Linked DNA regions of Homo sapiens: all the other regions are linked to region 5. The links are contacts of gene promoters, found by promoter capture Hi-C in blood cells and fetal thymus (Javierre and others, 2016). All regions are on one chromosome and are shown on one strand. The core of a region is centred on a gene start or on the middle of the fragment in contact, and the rest is flanking DNA. Distances in the headings are between cores, read along the strand shown. Region 1 overlaps PRKN (parkin RBR E3 ubiquitin protein ligase). Region 2 has its middle 5.7 kb from the start of AGPAT4. Region 3 overlaps PRKN (parkin RBR E3 ubiquitin protein ligase). Region 4 has its middle 44 kb from the start of AGPAT4. Region 5 holds the start of MAP3K4 (mitogen-activated protein kinase kinase kinase 4). Region 6 overlaps AGPAT4 (1-acylglycerol-3-phosphate O-acyltransferase 4).

Region 1 (2,801 bases), core at 255-2,754, 390 kb after region 5:
GCATGGGGCTATGTGTCATTATGCTTGCAGGCTTTTGTGTTGATGTGTTTTTGTTGTTCTGTTTGTTTTAATAGGAAAAGCAGAAGAAAATGAAATTTATCTTTGCATCCTTATCAAAATATTGACAGGTCCATGAAGCAGGCTTCAACTCTGCCTCACTCATTTAAGGGTTGTGTTGCTGTTGGCATTTGAGTTGGCCATCCCTGGTATTGTGTTTGACAAGCCAACAACAGCCCACTCATCCCCCTCTTTCAAAAGGCAGAGTGACCAGTAAGAACAATGGAAGCGCATTTCTGCTTCACTGGGACTGGAGTGGTCATCAGTGCTGGCTGGTGCAGCTCCCAAAGACCTGGGTAAAATAATGGTCTGGGGCTTGTCAACTCTATGCCCCTGGGTGGCCACTCTCCCTCCCTCTCCCTTGCCTATGGACAAAATCTATCACAAAAACTTGAGATAAGCCTCAGAATAAGATGGTGTACGTGAAAGTGCTTTGTAATCAAGCACGATACAAGTGCATATCCCAAGCAAATTATTATATTTATCCCAAGCAAATGGTGGGTTTATTTTTCTAATTTAGGAGGCAGATGGAAGGAACTGAGGTTTACTGTGGAAATCTAATTTTCTTTTATGATTCAAAAGATTACTGAGACATAATCCAGCCCTGAAGCTACTGTCTATTCTTTTCCTGTACTTACCCAGCTTCATGGTAGGGAGGGAGGTGTGTGGATGAAGGAGGGATTTGTCATTCATTCAACAAACACTTAATGAGCACCTACTCTGTGCCAGGCACTGCAGGATACAGGATGCGACAGGCACAAACCCTCCACTAACAAAGCCCAGACTTTTTAGGCCGGGCGCAGTGGCTCATGCCTGTAATCCCAGCACTTCGGGAGGCCAAGGCGGGTGGATCACGAGGTCAGGAGATTGAGACCATCCTGGCTAACACAGTGAAACCCCGTCTCTACCAAAAATACAAAAAATTAGCCGGGTGCAGTAGCAGGTGCCTGTAGTTTCAGCTACTTGGAAGGCTGGGGCAGGAGAATGGCGTGAACCCGGGAGGCAGAGCTTGCAGTGAGCCAAGATAGCGCCATTGTAGTCCGGCCTGGGTGAAAGAGCGAGACTCCATCTCAAAAAAAAAAAAAAAAAAAAAATCAAAACAAAAACAAACAAACAAACAAACAAAACAAAGCCCAGACTTTTTGTGAAGATACAGAGAAACGATATTTCAAGTGACGAATGTATCAGAATGTACAGTTGTCTGAAAGCTTACAGGATGTAGTGGGGAGGGCAGATGGCTTCTGGGAGGAGGTAACATGATCTGGGCCTAGAATGTTGAGCAGGAGGCATGGTTGGTAGGCAGGCATGGGCACATTCCCCTCAGACACTGTAGATCTATTAGAGAGAGCAGTTGCTGATCCCCAACTACTTAGGTAAAGTATAGCCACTGAAATTGATCTCTTCTGCGGCTTTAGAGAGCACCACTAAAAATCTGGAAGTCTCAGTCTGCACTCCTGCTGAATAGGGAGAGGAACATCAACTACCTAGAACCAGTTTATGTGGCTTTTGCAAGAGCAAGTGTGTAGTTATTAGCAAGCCTCCAGGGGCAATACGCGGAAGGAACTGGAACACGGGGAGGAGAACAAGCAGGGAAAAACAAGGAAAGCAAACGGGACTGGACTCTCGTTAGTCTGTGATGGATTGATCTTCTGTCACTGCTTTCCCAAACTCCCAGCAGTTTCAACGTAAAGCTTGTTCAATATTTTAAAACCAATTTAAAGCCAATTTTTGAGTTTGCTTTAAAGAATTATTGCATTAATCAAAAAATACATTAAGTTTTAGGTCCAACAGTCTAACTGATAGGAAAAGCTGATTGGGACTCAAGAGAAATGGGCTCTCCTGGCTGGAGCATGTAATGTGCAAGAACAGAAACCAATCAATGCTAAAGGGAAGAACAGCAGAAACGAGTCACAAATGGCTCAAAGCAAAGAACCCTGCAACTGAATGGAATTGAAAGAAAGTGTGAAGAGGGCTGATGAGGGTATTTAGTTATTATTAGCAAAATTCAGATGTGAGAACACATCTAAAGCCTTCGGTTCCAAGGGAGGCTGCAATTGGGCTTTCATTGTGAGATGTGTAGAGTGTCATCCTTTCAAAGATTTCAGGTCAATGAAACTGCAGAGGTCATCCTCCTGGAGACCATGCTGCTTGAGAGAAATGTAGGGAACAGAAAATAAGCCAGCTCTATGAAAATAAAAGCCCTTCATTCTGTTATCAAATCGAATTGGGTCATGAAATTTGAAGAAATAGCTTGTTTGGTTCGTGCCTTCCCACATCCAAAAGCAGCTATGGTTGAAATAAGGAAACTTGGGAAGATTGGTAAATTCGCTCATAGAGAAGGTGCTGGTAATTCTGTATTCTTTCCCCTCTCTGCTTTGCATCTGGAAGGCTGGCTCCCATGGGCTGTGCCCCTAGGATCCCTTGTGTCTGGCTTCGGTGGGGTATGGCCCATGGGAGACATTAGCAAGAGATCGGATGGCAGGAGGCAGGAGGCAAGATGTCCATGCTCACTCCCTTCCTGTGTGGGGCTACTTCCAGGCAACGCTGGATGCTCCGTGATGACACCTCCTGTCATGAGGCCCCTTCTCCATGGCTGCAGCTCATGGGGTTCATGGGACTCTTCCTCCCCCTGCCTTTACAGGCCTGGGGTGGTCATGGCTCCCCAGTGATGCTCGCTCTGAGGCCCTCAGCCCTGTGATGGTTCCTGTGTCCCCAGCCCGCCTCTGCAGGTCATCCCTTTCATT
Region 2 (3,038 bases), core at 350-2,849, 290 kb after region 5:
AATCTTATATTTAATAGTTATATATGTCAATAAAAACCCAATAAAGTTCTTAAAATGTTGTATGTTTTTATGACCAACAAACTCTTACGGCTCTCGTTATTATTACAATCATTTCAAGTACGATCAAAGAGGTGTAACATTAATATCATTGGGGAAAGTGCAGAGGAACTAAGAAAAATTTCCTCCTTTGCCAACAATGGTTATGACCTAAGTTATTCCCATAAGATGGATGTATTTACAGAACCTTCGTTTCTATTGATTAGCTCTCAATGAATCTTAACACTGAATTTTATGCTAAAAATTGTTCTTGATATTTACTTGGCTTTTTTCTCTTATTGCCATCTTCAGGTCAATTCAGCCCGCCTGAGATGGCCCCAGAAAGCCACCCACTACCCTGTCCTGAATTCAGGCAATGAGCAACTTGAAATCATACGATACAGAAGCAAATCTACCACAACAGAAGGAACTGAATTCAAATCAATTAACGCATAACTGATTGGCAACAAATTGAAAAAGATACCAGTTTCACAACCTGATTTTAAAAGACAAGGTAATACGATGCCAATACTGAAACCTAGCACTTGTATTCTTCATAGCCAAGTGACAATAGAGCACATTAGTTCAAGTGGTATGAAACTTGGGATGATTTTTACTGTCATTGCATGGTATGTGATTTTTTTTTTTTTTTTTTTTTTTTTTGAGACGGAGTCTCGCTGTCGCCCAGGCTGGAGTGCAGTGGCGCGATCTCGGCTCACTGCAAGCTCCACCTCCTGGGTTCACGCCATTCTCCCGCCGCAGCCTCCCCAGTAGCTGGGACTACAGGCGCCCGCCACCACGCCCGGCTAATTTTTTGTATTTTTAGTAGAGACGGGGTTTCACCGTGTTAGCCAGGATAGTCTCGATCTCCTGACCTCGTGATCCGCCCTCCTCGGCCTCCCAAAGTGCTGGGATTACAGGCGTGAGCCACCGCGCCCGGCCTATGTGATTTTTTTAAGAACAATTTTCGTAAGCATGCATTACTTTTACAAACAGAAAACTAAAGCTATATTTGTACCAGCCTGGGCAACATGGCAAAACCCTGTCTTTACAGAAAACACAAAAATTAGCCAACCATGGTGGTGCACACCTGTAGTCCCAGCTACTTGGGGGACCGAGGCAGGAGGATACCTGAGCCCTGGAGGTCGGGGCTGCAGTGAGCTGTGTTCATGCCACAGCACTCCAGCCTAGGTGACAAAGTAAGACCCTGTTTCAAAAAAAGAAAAAGCTATATTTATTTTCTAAAATAAGTATTTATTGTTATCCATTGTTGACATAATGCTTTTCTTTATTTGGTAGTTGTTATAGCTTACAGCATGATGGCACCTTGGAGGGTGGCCTAATTGGAGTGCGATCCTGAGCCAGCAGCATCAGTATCACCTAGGAACTTGTTGGAAATGCAGAGTCTCAGGCCCCACCCCAGGTCTGGTGAATACATACTGCATTTTAACAACATCCCCAGAAGATTCACTAAAGTTTGAGAAGTACTCGTGTCAATCCAAATCCCTCATTTAACAGAGGAGGGATCAGAGCCAGGGAGGCTGGGTTTGCCTGTCCAGGGTCACACAAGTAACAGGAAGCAGCGCTGAACCAGACTCAGTGTTTAATGATTCTCACCACAGAATTCTTTCCACTGTATTTCCTAGGATTTCAGATCCAAAGGCAAGGCTGAAACAAAATTCTATTAACATGAAAGAGTAAAAAGACAATTTCTACTTAAACTCATGATCATTCTACGAAGTGTCATTGAAAGTCCATCTGTAGTACATGCGTTTTGAGTTTATATAGAGAGAGTCAGTTTTACACCCAAAAAATAGCACTGAAATTAGGCAACTATCAGACAAAAGTTGGCAGAAGGTATAGGAGATCTTTTCTCCAGGATCGCTCATTTTATCTTGGTTTAAAGCCAAAGCTATGTCTAGTTCAATGAAACTTAGCTTCAAGATTGATTTGCAAGAGAGGCAGCAGAAAAGAAAAGGATCCCAGCTGGCCTCCGTGTCTCTGTTCTTGCCCCCTCCAGTCTGCTTCTCACCCACAGCCTTTGCAAAAGTGAGTTTTGCAAAACAAAAATGAGAACATGCTGCTCTCCTCTCTGAATTTGGGTACCCCGAGAGTCCCCTGTATTCTTATAATAAATTTTACCATTAAGCTAGCTTTGTCATTTGCAACCAGAGTCCTAATTCTTAAGTTTTGGAGACTCAACGTTCCTTATACACAAAATTCATGGGTCTAGTTGTGATGTTCAAATGAGACAGAATGTGTGAAGCACCAGAAATAATGTAGAACCTCAAAAAATGACCACTCTTTCCTCCTCCCTTCACCCCATCCATTAATATACAGGTAACTTTCAGATCTATATTTCCAGTTGGCATTTTTTCCCTAAACCTCAGACAGTTATCCAATAACCTGGTAAATATCTTCATTTATCTGTCCCAAAGGAAGCTCAAATTGAACAAGTCCAAAAACAAACCTTTGGCCCCAACTTGGCCAGTTCTCTGAGGTCCAATTTCCCAACTTTCTAGTTCCACACTTTGGTGCAACTGATGACTTTGAAGTTATCTTCTATTCTTCCCTGTTCCTCTTGCTTCTTTTCCCCCCACCAACCCCTAAAGCATCCTATTAATTCTCTTCCCTCACAGCCCTCAAAGCATCCTGTTAATTCTCTTCTCAAAGATATTTCTCCAAAGTCCTCTCCTCTCACCACCACTGCTCCTGGGTTAGTACAGGGCCCCTCTACTCTTGAATGACTTCAAAGAAACCTCTTCTTCTACTTTTTATTTCAGGAGAAAAGTCAAATTATTTAGAATGACATGCAAGATGTTTCATGATCTGGCTCTCTCTCTCTCTCTCTCTCTCTCTAGTTTCATCTCTTATCTCTTTCCATACTGTCTGAGTCCGTTTTTCACTGCTATAACCGGTTACTACAGACTGGATCACTTATAAAGAACAGGGGTTTACTTGGCTCACAGTTCTAGAGACTGCGAAGTCCAAGAGCATGGCAT
Region 3 (2,892 bases), core at 59-2,558, 410 kb after region 5:
CATTTGTTTTTCTGCCCTTCACATTTGCCCCTTCAGGGAGCATTCTAACATCAAGCTTAATTGACTGCCTCTCTTCTAACAACTTCTCAAAATCTATTCCACCCTTCCCAACTCCTCTTTTAAGATGCACTTTGCCTATTGCATATTTCCATTTGGATAGGTTGCAGTCACCTCAAATTCAAGTCACTTCTAATTCCACGTGATTATCATGAAGTTGCAAGGACCTAACAGAATAATGGCAATCATCAAACCTTTGCAGAATAAACAAGCAGTAGTAGCTGGAAAAGCCTCAACTTCTGAGAAGCAGAAGAGGATAGCACAGTGCTGAGGAAACCCAGTACTGAGAATGGAGAGGTCAATCCTGAGTACAAGAGGAATAACTAAGACTTTCTGCCAGGGAAAGTACTTTAGTGACCTCGGAGGCCATAATTTTGGTCCAATGGTTCAATGGTCAGCTAGATTCAGAGGCTAAGATCACAGGCATGATGGGGTGGAAAAGGCTTCACAACAGAGAGCTCTGAATCAGTTTGAAAACAGCAAAAGATGATGAAAAGAGAGAGAATGAAGACGCTAGCCAGAGAGGGGGCAGGATGGGAGTGAAGTCCCAGAGAAAGTCGAGGCTAGGGAGACACACTCAAAGGTTTATGGCTTTCAATGGAGGAGGATAAGGTTTTGCAGCAAAATCCTAGGAGAGTCACATTGATGAGAGAGTTTTCTCAAGGAGATGACACCCATGCCCTTGGTCTTCCTAACAGAGCACCATAGCAGCTCTGAATCTTCTGGAGTCTAGGGGGAGAGGAGAGTCACAGATAGAGAGGAGGCTGAAACAGTTACTGTCAGTTGGAGCATCCATGAGACATGAATTGAAGGGACGCCCATCCATGTTGATAACTAAATTCACATCACAGCACTGGCTCTAGTTAGTTCCCTAGAATGTGGTTCCCAGACTAGCACCATCAGCATCACCCAGGAGCATGTCAGAAAACCCGAATTTCAGGCCCCACCCAAGAAGTACTAGACCAGAATCTTTCATTTTACCAGGATCCCCGAGTGACTTGTATGCACCATTTAGAGACCCTGTTCTAGCTCATTCATTCAACCAAAAGTTCCTACTCAGGAACTCCACTCAGAATGTATGCTGTGCATTGCTGGAGCCTGCAAAGATGCAGAACGTATGTAATTTCCAGTTTCAGAGGAGTCACAATTCACCTCTCCCTTGCTCTACCCAATGCTCCCTCCATTCCACAAGTACTCATCAAGCATGTACTGTGTGTGAATGGTAAGGCACTGGCCATTCTTCATGGCCTCACAGAGTTCACAGTCAGCTGTGTCCTGATCATATGATGGATGTGAGGTTCCATGGGAGCACAGTGTTGAACCTGGGAGGTGCAGGTTGTAGTGAGGAGATGAGGAGGTTACAGACAGGAGACAGGGAAATATTGGGTAGAAGAGGGCAGTTCCCCAGCAAAGGCCTGACCCTCAAGCCTGGAAACCCATGGCCCTAAATGGGAACAGGCATTCCTGTTTTCACACCCAAATGTTGCCTTTTGGCCTGTCATGCCCCCCTATCCTGTCCCTATATAAACTCCAAACCCCAGGCTCCATGAGCAGAAGAGCAGCAGAGGAGAGAAGAGAAGGAATATCTGAATGTCGAGAGGAGTTCTGCTGCAGACAGTTAGAGAGGAGATTGGCTGCTGGACGGCCCAACTCCAGGGGAAGATCATCTTTCTACTCCATCCCCTTTCCAGCTCCCCATCCATCCATCCCACTGAGAGCCACATCCACCACTCAATAAAACCCTGCAGTCACCATCCTTCAAGTCCATGGGTGACCTGATTTTTCTGGATGCCAGACAAGAACTTGGAATATGGAAAGCTGTCACACTGGCCCTCTGCCCTTGCAAAAAGGCAGAGGGTCCACTGAGCTGTTTAACACTTAAGCTGTCTGCAGACAGCAAAATTAAAAGAGCGCACTGTAACACACAGCTAACTGGGCTTTGGGAGTCACAGGCACCCATCCCTAGACACTACTGTGGGGCCAGAGCCCAGAAGTGCTCGTCCTGGCTCCTGCACCTGCTCATCTGCATGCTCCCCCTCCCATAAGGAGTTTGAGCAGTGGTGGTGGCTGAACTGATGAGCCATATGCCTGTTGCATGTCCTGCAACCGGGGTGGGTCAGGGAACTCTCCCGTTTCAGCAGTAAGAAGAGGAAGGTGAACTGGGACCAATGGAGTTTGCTGGAAATGATAGCCCCCAGAAAGTACCAATCCCAGTGCTAGGGATGATGCCAGCATTCTAGTGTAATTCACTCTGCTAGTGTAATTCTGCAACACTTTTGTCTTTTTGATTTTGAAACCACCGTGAAAGGATACAGCCTAGAACAGTGCTGTCCAATTGAAACAGCAATAATTTTTAATGGTCTAGTAGCTATATGAAAAGAGGAAAAAGAAACAAGTAAAATTAATTTCAATATTTTACTTAACTAAATATATTCAAAATTGTATCATTTCAACATGCAATCGATATAAAAATTGGTAATGAGTTATTTTATATTCATTTTTACTAAGCTTTTGGAATCGGGTCTGCTTTTACTCTTTCAATGCATCTCAGTTGGGACTAGCCCTATTCTATGGGCTCAGGAGCCTCACGTGGGCACCATGTTGGACAGGAGCCTCACAGGGCTAGTGGCCACCATGCTGGCCACCACGCTGGACTGCGCAGGTCTACAAGGACCCTGCTGTCTGAGGACTCCTTGCACGATGCAGAGTTCAGTTAAGGGTCCACAGAACAAAAGCGACAGAACACCTCCAATATTTTAGAAGAAAGTAGGATGAGGTGAGCTGGGGACATGGGGAAGATTAGAAAATTAAACCTAATCTTTTTTTTTTTTTTGA
Region 4 (2,730 bases), core at 221-2,720, 330 kb after region 5:
AATTTTTTTCTTTTATACTGTATACTGGATTTTGCTGTACCTTTTTTTTTTTTGAGATGGAGTTTTGCTCTTGTCACCCAGCTTGGAGTGCAGTGGTATGATCTTGGCTTACTGCAACCACCTCCTGGGTTCAAGCAATTCTCCTGCCTCGGCCTCCTTAGTAGCTGGGATTACAGGTGCCCGTCACCACACCCAGCTAGTTTTTGTATTTTTAGTAGAGACGGAGTTTTGCCGTGTTGGCCAGGCTGGTCTCGAACTCCTGACCTCAGGTGATCCACTCACCTTGGCCTCCCAATGTGTTGGGATTATGGGCATGAGCCACCGCTCCTAGCCCTTGCTGCACCTTTTCTATGTTTAGATGCACAAAAACCGTTGTGTTACAATTATCTACAGTATTCAGTAAAGTCCCATGCTGTACAGGTTGGTAGCCTGAGAGAAACAGGTGCCTCATGGGCTATACCATCTAGGTTTGTGTAAGTGTACTCTAACATGTTTACACAACAAAGTTGCCTAAGAATGCATTTTTTTTTTTTTAATTTGAGACGGAGTCTTGCTGTGTTGCCCAGGCTGGAGTGCAGTGGCGTGATCTTGGCTCACTGCAACCTCCCTCTTCTGGGTTCAAGCGATTCTCCTGCCTCAGCCTCCCCAGTAGCTGGGATTATAGGAGTGCACCACCATGTCTGGCTAATTTTTGTATTTTTAGTAGAGACGGAGTTTCCATGTTGGCCAGGCTGGTCTCGAACTTCTGACCTCAGGTGATCTGCCCTCCTCAGCCTCCCAAAGTGCTGGGATTACAGGTGTGAGCCACCGTAACAATGGATTTCTCAAAACACCTGGCCCTAACAATGGATTTCTCAAAACATATCCTCATTGTTAAGAGAGGCATGACTGTATGTACACAGTATATACACATTATATATATGTGTGTGTGTGCTTATGTGTATATATACATATGTGTATGTGTATATGTACATATAGTGGCAATGATCGTGCTGTCAGGTTCTACAAAATCCTCTTTGTACCCAAACACTGCTGATCCAACAAACGTGACCACAGTGGAATCTGTATGTGTACATATACACACACATATGTATATACTTTTTGCCAAACTGTTTGATGTCGTAGACATCATGATACTTCACCCCTAAATATATATCTCTCAAGAATAATGACATTCTCCTACTCAATTACAATATAATTATACTCTTTGGGAATTATACATTGCCACAATAGTAGGATCTAACACAATGTCTTCTAGAGCTCGTTTTTTTTCCAGAGATGATGTAATCTTTACCTTTGATTCTGCTCTTTTGCCCCTCTCTGCTTAACCTGCTCCACTCAGGATCTAGCAAGAGATGTCACACATAAGGCCCCAAATAACTTAGGGAGTTGAATGAATGAAAGAATGGATGCATAAATGTGAAAATCCTTTCTGATGTGTCTTCAGGACGTGGAAAGGTGCATGACCCCATGTGGGAATTCAGTGACCTTCAAGCCCTTCTCATTGGTCTAGACAGAAACCTTACACCTGGCAGGATATGCATTTTGCAGCTGAGGCTCTTTGTGAGCAGTTTGGTGATATTTAAGTTCCTGGTGATTAGGGAAACCGTCAGGAGCTTGGCAAACCTATTCAAAATACAACATATTAAAATTCCTGTTAATCATAGATCTTAAAAGCACTGGGCTACAACACTTGGTTAAAGTACCAAAAATGCAAACCAGTTATTATGAAAACAAAGCCGGGGAAGTAGGTGGCACTGCATTGTAGGAGTCTACATTCAGCAACAAAAGAGGGCACAGGCTCTACTGTGGTCACATTCATTGCATCAGCAGTGTTCGGTACAAAGAGGCTTTTGTGAAACCTGACGGCACGATCATTGCACAGGCACACCATTGAACGAAGGCAGACTTTCCCCTTCTATGAAAGGATAATTTTCTTCTCATATTTGACACCGATTAGCTCTAGCAGAGAATTCTATTTAAAGCAATCCCTTGAAATTAGACCATGTATGCCAAGGGCAGGGCTGTGTATTCAGCCCTGTCTTCCTAGCAACTTTAGCGATGTATCCTAAGTATGGGAGGAGGGCACTGAAAAAGTGAGGCATGAAAGAGATATATCTAATAATCATGACTACTTACTATCACAACTTAGAAGAAATAGCTGGATTTCAATCTCTTTTCCCAATCCGACGGTTTATTATTTTCCTTTTTTCTTCCAAAATTTCATACGCATCCCAAGTTTTAGCATAATGATATCAGCAGCAAGTTGTTAAATAAGTTCTGTGGGCTCATCAAAGCAATTATCTTAAAGTGTTCTATGAAACAGCATTGGTTCAGTGCTGATTGCGTTATAAACTTTGAAATGAAGAGCACTGCACTTTAGAAACTCCAGGTTATGAAGAATTTTCTGTTTTTCATTTTGGCCTCCTTCTCTACTAACCAATGTGTTTGAAAACCTGTAATGTGACTCTTCAGGTTAGAGGGTGAGTTTTTTAACCCTTCCCCAGCTCTCAACACTATCCCTCTCCATCTCCAGCCTTTGAGTTCTGTCTAGCACTCACCATAGGATATGTCCTGATGAAAGCCTCATTGTTCCACATCTGAGAAGATCAGTTGCTGTGCACAGCTGCATGGGAACTGGATCCAGTCCCCATCTGGATCTAGGAACAAATCGGTCCCTAGCAGCTTGACAACTGCTCATTGTCTAGTCAAGGGGGTTGCTTTCTTTTC
Region 5 (2,920 bases), core at 395-2,894:
TAAGTGTAAATTTACTTGGTTCCTGCTAAAATACATAGTATCCTCAAGTGGAAATTAAAACACAAGAACAAGCCACAGGTCTCCCGCATGCTGATTATATTTGCTAAGTGTTTTGTGACTTGGACACACGTGTCTGCATTATCAGCTAGCTTAAATTCGGTAGTCATACCAAAGAATACGTAGTACAATGCTGTTTAAAGAAGAGATTTATTTTATTATTTAACTTTTAAAGTCTCTAATATGCCTTCTAAGAAGGGTTCTGGCTCAGAAAATTGCAGAAGAAAATCGAGTAGAGAACTAGAATTACAGAAACCTAAGAAATACTTTTACTGAGCTTTCTTCACACAAGAAAATGCACGGAAATGAATTATACATGGATACCAATTTGTGATTTTTAAAAATTTGTAATTTTTTAAATTAAGATAAAAATTAGTTTATTTTTTTGAATACTTTTTTGTTTTGTTTTACCTCACCCTTTACTAAGCTGTTAGCTTGGTCTGTTGCGCTTACTGCTATATCCTCAGCATCTAGTACAGTTCCTGACACATATATGCACTTAATAAGTATTTGTCAAATGAATATTATTGAGTAAATAAGATGAAGGTCAATTCAGAAATTCAGCACTATCAGGCTATATACATAATACAGACTATTATAAAAAACTAGAATGGAGCAGTTCCTTTTAACGACGGAGAAATGTCAGTAACATACTTTGAGCACAATATAGCTAATTTCACAACTGGTCTTTAAATATAACATACCTATAATCAATTTAATGTTTTTCTTTGTTACCAGAGTTGTTCAAAACGTGCGTTTCACCTATCAAAGCTCAACTAAATGAGGTTTAAGAAATCTGCACATTTGAATGTACTTAATTTTAAAAGATTCTGGTTTTGGATTAACTCTGGATTTCACCCTATGGGAAATTTTGTAAATATTTCCAACTTAAAAAAAAACTGTGAAGCCCCAGCGCTAAGAGTAAACGATGCATTGGAATTTCAACAGGATTTCTGTAACTCTGAAATAATCTTTAGCATTTCTTCTTCCCCCCATCCCCTCAGTGTAGGAGCATTCCAGTCCAAGTTTCTGGGAGATCGCTATCGAATCTTATGACACTGGGGTGAGAAGTTTTGCCGGGTTGAAATGAGGGGGTCACTTTAATAATCTGGAATTCCGGAGACTTTATGTCAAGTCTTAAAAATTCGAGCCTGTGGAAGGCTGCGCTGTCAAGAGACCGGAGTTGCGAGCGTCTGGGTGACGTCCGTCCTCCTGGAAGGTGGGATCCGGGTGGCAGGTCCCTGGGCGGCGACTCCGGCCGGGCTCATAGCGTCGCGCCCGCCCCGCTCATCGGCCCTACCCAGCGTCCCTCCCAGACCGACGACCGCCTGGGAAGCCTCGAGCTCCCAGCCCGCTGCACAGCCCGGCTCCGCTCCACAGTCCCCCACTGCCACCGGCCGGGGCGACACCGGGCGAGCTGGCGAGACCCGGCTCCAGGACCGAATCGCGCCGACACTTGACGGCGCTCCCCGCCCCTCCCTGCCGCCGTCTCCGCCCCCGTCCGGTCGCATTCCGGCGCCCGCCGCCGCCGCCGCCACCGCCGCCGATCTGGGAGGCTTGTCCCTCGCCGCCCACCGTAGCCCCGGCGCTCGGCCGGTCGCCGTTTCCAAGATGGCCGCGGCGCGCACGGCTCCTGCGGCGGGGTAGAGGCGGAGGCGGAGTCGAGTCACTCCCGCACTTCGGGGCTCCGGTGCCCCGCGCCAGGCTGCAGCTTACTGCCCGCCGCGGCCATGCGGGGCTCCGTGCACGGATGAGAGAAGCCGCTGCCGCGCTGGTCCCTCCTCCCGCCTTTGCCGTCACGCCTGCCGCCGCCATGGAGGAGCCGCCGCCACCGCCGCCGCCGCCACCACCGCCACCGGAACCCGAGACCGAGTCAGAACCCGAGTGCTGCTTGGCGGCGAGGTGAGTGTGGCGGCCGCAGTCGGTCGCTCGCAGAAAGCGGGGCGGGTCCTGGCCCGAACTCGGTCGGGCCCGAGGGCCTCTGCTTCCCGCCAGGTGGGGAGGGAAGCATCCAGTCTCTGCAGGCTGGGGCGGGAGGGGCGCGGTGCATCCCTGGGTCCCAGGGGACCGCGTCTGAGTCTGTCCGGCGACTCCTCCCGGGGTTGCAGCTCCGCAGGGTTCCGCTCGAGCGTGTTGCCGGCTCCCCTTCCCTTGTAGACTCCCCCAGCTCACCCTCAACGTTGCGGGGGCTGGGAGCAGAGTGCGGCTGCCTCCCCTGCCGCTAGCTTCGGAAGAGTGGCCTCACTGAAGTGCCTCTCATCATTACTGAACGAAAGTGGTCCCTCCCCTCTGCCCTCATTCGAGTAAAAGAGACATTCGGAAATCGAGTGCGTACTGGCTATTTCCCCGCGTTCTCCTCCTCCTCTCCTTTTGCCCGCTCCAGAGAATGCCTGTCATCTCTTCCGTGAGAAATTGCACTTAGACTATGCAGACAGATACGTTGCTTTCCTGTTCTGAGGGCCCCTTACTGTCCTTTAGTGCTAGTATTGTGCAGATTGTTGCTCACACGTGCACAAAAGTAAGGATTCATTTGTCTAAAACTTTGCTACTGCAGGAAGCTCTAAGGTGGAACTTCGGTAACCAAAGCATTTGTTGCTTTTTCTTCCATACTCTATTAACTTATTTTTATGTCTTTATTTTTTTTTTAATTGAGAGAACAAACTCACCATAACTGAGAATTTCCCTCTTTTTACGTGCCTATGTTTGTATGTTCAAATGTCCTCTTACTCCCTGTCCTTTGCATCCCAGAGTAAACTTGCAAACTGCTGCCCCCTGTCCCCTGTAATGAAAATACCTCGGCAGCTCCTCTTGGCATCTTATGGTCTTGCTCTATGGTTCTAGGAATAAGGCAGTAAAGTGTCCT
Region 6 (2,700 bases), core at 82-2,581, 270 kb after region 5:
CATAAGCAGAGTCAGCCTTCAGTCCACACAGCCATGTCAACACATAGAGGGACATGCTGTTTAGATGAAGGAAATGAGCTGCAGAAAGGAGTCAGGGAGTTTCAGCCTGCAGGAAAAAGCCACTCCACCCTCACCCAGGCAGAGCAAGGTGTCCAGGCGAGGCCGGTTGGCAGGATGTTACTGCCCACCACAGCACTTGCAGGAAGTAAAACAGATCCCCCTCAACTGAAATGATCTCGGAGACTGGTCCTTAAGTAGGACTGGCCCTTACCCTGGATCCTGAGTATAGGCAATGGGCAAAGCTGGAAGGATACGAAAACCTGGCTAACACCCTAAGTTTCCCAGGCAAGAGGAAATCAACCCCAGGCACGCATGGTGACGGCAGCGACCGCCACCATCTAGAAGAATTAGGCTTTGTGCCTAAGATTGGGGAAAAGTCTTCGGTGGATCAAATATTTTGTTCTCCTTCCTGTGAGGCTGCTTTGAAAAGCTGAGATTAAACACTCTGCTGATGTTCCTCACCACCAGCGCTGCTCTCTGCCGTGTGTCATGGATGAACACATTTGCTGTGTTCACATGAAATGTGGGGAGAAGTTCCAGGGCTGAAATACGTGACAGACATGACACTCGTGCTATGAAACCAGCTTCCTCTGATAGCCACACAGCGGAGCTGACACGTCCTCCCTGAAGCAGGCTCGGGAGGCAGAGACGGCGTCTGATGGCTCCCCCGGTCCCTGCAGCCTGTACACAGTCGACACTGACAAAGAGCGTTCCCGAAAGAAATCTGGTGGATTGCCAAAAGCTTCATTAATTAATGAAATCAGTGGGGAGATAAATAATTGAAGGGAAAGAAATGGGTTCATCAGTTTGGCAACACTGAAATTTTCATGCATTCTGCCTAGGAGACGAATAAGCCCACAAGACAGGCATCAAGAATGGATGTGCCTTTTCTCCAGTTTTAGGTCTGGGAGAGTTTCCACTTTCCCAAAAGTCAGCCTTTGGCATCACGTTGGAGACGCCTGTTGCGAGCTCCCTGCAGACCAGCCACCTTAGCCAGTGGGCGTGGAGGCAGAGGTCTTCACTTTTCCTCTAAGTCCTTACTAAGAATTTTCCTGTGCCCTAAATGAGATGTTGGAGATGGGGGGAAAGTGGCAATGAAAACAGCACTTGTTTCTAACATGAACTTTGGATCAGGATAAAAGTAGTAAACTTAAAATTAGATGAATGCTAAAATGTTCCAAATATCCATCACCCGGTGAATAAAGAAGCAAGAGATGGTACAGCCACAGGACGGAAGACCACTAACAAGAAGGAACCAGTCCCGGCTCCATGCATGCCACGGGTGGATCTCAAGCATATTATGCTAAATGAACAGAGCCAGACACAGAACAATACATAGTGAATTATCCCACTCATAGGCAATACCTATCAAAGGCCAAATTACAGACACAGAAACTGGATCACTGATTGTCTGAGCTACAGACACATGTGAGGATGGATCCTGTGGGCATGAGGAGACTTTTGGGATGAGAGAGGCGTTCTAAGCTGGATTTTGGTGATGGTTACACAACGCCAAATTTACCAAAACTCATTGAACTATACACTTAAAATGGGTGAATTTATGGTATGTAAATTATATCTTAGTAATGCCATTAAAAAATTAAATGAAGACAGAAGTTTTTAAAACTGCTGAAATCCAACATCAAAAAAATGATCAAAGGGTTCTTGAAATATGAGAAGTCAATTTAAATTAATTTTCTTCATGGAAATTAAAAAGGAATGTGGACAAGAAGGAGAAAGAGAAGAAAAAAAAAGGAAAGACAGCGTTAGTCCCACCTTCTATTTCATATGGAAGTGAATACAAGCTTATTCTGTTGTTCCATTAGCTATGAACCCATCTGGTCCCAATCCCCAGGTCACCATCATATACACAAGGATGTGGTGACGCAGTCTGTCAAATGTTTACTTTACAGGATCACCCTTGCTCTGGCACTTTCTCAACTGACTCACCCAGTAACGGTACCAATGAAATAAGTGAGGTTAACTCAACATGATTTAGTTTTGGCGCACACATCCTGGCTCCATGGGATCATTTATTACTTCCTACGTTAAAACACTTGGAAGGAAAAAACTCCTGCGTGCCAGAATGAAAGTTCTAGTATTTACACTTCTCAACTTTTAAAAACAAGGAATTTTACTTATCTCCAGTCTTATGACACTTTTTTTCCTCCATGAGACCTCAAAGACTGAGAGTGGCAGTTCAGAGATGAAAACTCTACGTCCATTGTCTTCCCTAAAAAGTGACTTCCCTTGGCTGCAATAACGGAAGTAACTCAAAATGACTGCACTCCCATCTTCAGGCTGTTCTATCCTTTCCCATTTGAAAACAAATTTCCTGCAAACGGGTTGGCAGATTCTCCAAATACCTGAGAGTATCCAACAACCATTTTTAGACTTTTGTTTTGTACAAAGTTATCTTCTCTGAATCTATAAACTTTTCCACCTCTTGGTGGAAATTTTCAAATGTATATTTATGTTCATGTCTTGAATCATAAGACAAGCAAAATACAGAAAGAAAAAACACAACTAAAATTGACACAAGAGAGCAATAACCTCTCACAGTCCTAGAAAACAGGAGAGTTCTCTTATCTGGGGCAACTTCAGCTTTGGACTTCACCACCTATATATGTTGGGAGATGG

What was found. Contacts are between HindIII fragments. The CHiCAGO score rates a contact against its expected background, and 5 or more counts as called.
Region 1: a fragment that was not itself captured here is called in contact with the fragment with the promoter of MAP3K4 in region 5 in 4 of 17 cell types (M2 macrophages, monocytes, endothelial precursors and 1 more); the score reaches 8.2 in M2 macrophages.
Region 2: a contact is called between a fragment that was not itself captured here and the fragment with the promoter of MAP3K4 in region 5, in 2 of 17 cell types (fetal thymus and monocytes). The highest score is 6.2, in fetal thymus.
Region 3: a contact is called between a fragment that was not itself captured here and the fragment with the promoter of MAP3K4 in region 5, in 1 of 17 cell types (monocytes). The highest score is 5.9, in monocytes.
Region 4: a fragment that was not itself captured here is called in contact with the fragment with the promoter of MAP3K4 in region 5 in 4 of 17 cell types (monocytes, endothelial precursors, activated CD4 T cells and 1 more); the score reaches 5.9 in monocytes.
Region 6: a fragment that was not itself captured here is called in contact with the fragment with the promoter of MAP3K4 in region 5 in 1 of 17 cell types (fetal thymus); the score reaches 5.3 in fetal thymus.

What each region holds. Positions count from the first base shown.
Region 1 is chr6:161,380,983-161,383,783 of GRCh38, forward strand. All of the region lies in intron 10 of PRKN (parkin RBR E3 ubiquitin protein ligase), which reads right to left. Among named protein-coding and RNA genes, the nearest start is that of AGPAT4, 110 kb to the left of the region's middle. The HindIII fragment of the contact is 483 bases long and covers 1,264-1,746 here.
Region 2 is chr6:161,278,251-161,281,288 of GRCh38, forward strand. No RefSeq gene overlaps it. Among named protein-coding and RNA genes, the nearest start is that of AGPAT4, 5.7 kb to the left of the region's middle. The HindIII fragment of the contact is 5,594 bases long and covers 1-3,038 here.
Region 3 is chr6:161,397,435-161,400,326 of GRCh38, forward strand. The region is part of intron 9 of PRKN (parkin RBR E3 ubiquitin protein ligase); the gene reads right to left. Among named protein-coding and RNA genes, the nearest start is that of AGPAT4, 120 kb to the left of the region's middle. The HindIII fragment of the contact is 2,510 bases long and covers 54-2,563 here.
Region 4 is chr6:161,316,813-161,319,542 of GRCh38, forward strand. No RefSeq gene overlaps it. Among named protein-coding and RNA genes, the nearest start is that of AGPAT4, 44 kb to the left of the region's middle. The HindIII fragment of the contact is 3,467 bases long and covers 1-2,730 here.
Region 5 is chr6:160,990,125-160,993,044 of GRCh38, forward strand. It overlaps MAP3K4 (mitogen-activated protein kinase kinase kinase 4), which reads left to right and starts at 1,645. Exons shown (of 27, transcript NM_005922.4): 1 at 1,645-1,959. The coding sequence starts at 1,808. It overlaps MAP3K4-AS1 (MAP3K4 antisense RNA 1), which reads right to left and starts at 2,218. Exons shown (of 1, transcript NR_174962.1): 1 at 194-2,218. RefSeq lists enhancers at 1,081-1,140, 1,161-1,230, 1,183-2,052 and silencers at 1,321-1,650, 2,113-2,407, 2,321-2,450. The HindIII fragment of the contact is 10,290 bases long and covers 1-2,920 here.
Region 6 is chr6:161,255,940-161,258,639 of GRCh38, forward strand. All of the region lies in intron 1 of AGPAT4 (1-acylglycerol-3-phosphate O-acyltransferase 4), which reads right to left. Among named protein-coding and RNA genes, the nearest start is that of AGPAT4, 17 kb to the right of the region's middle. The HindIII fragment of the contact is 1,063 bases long and covers 801-1,863 here.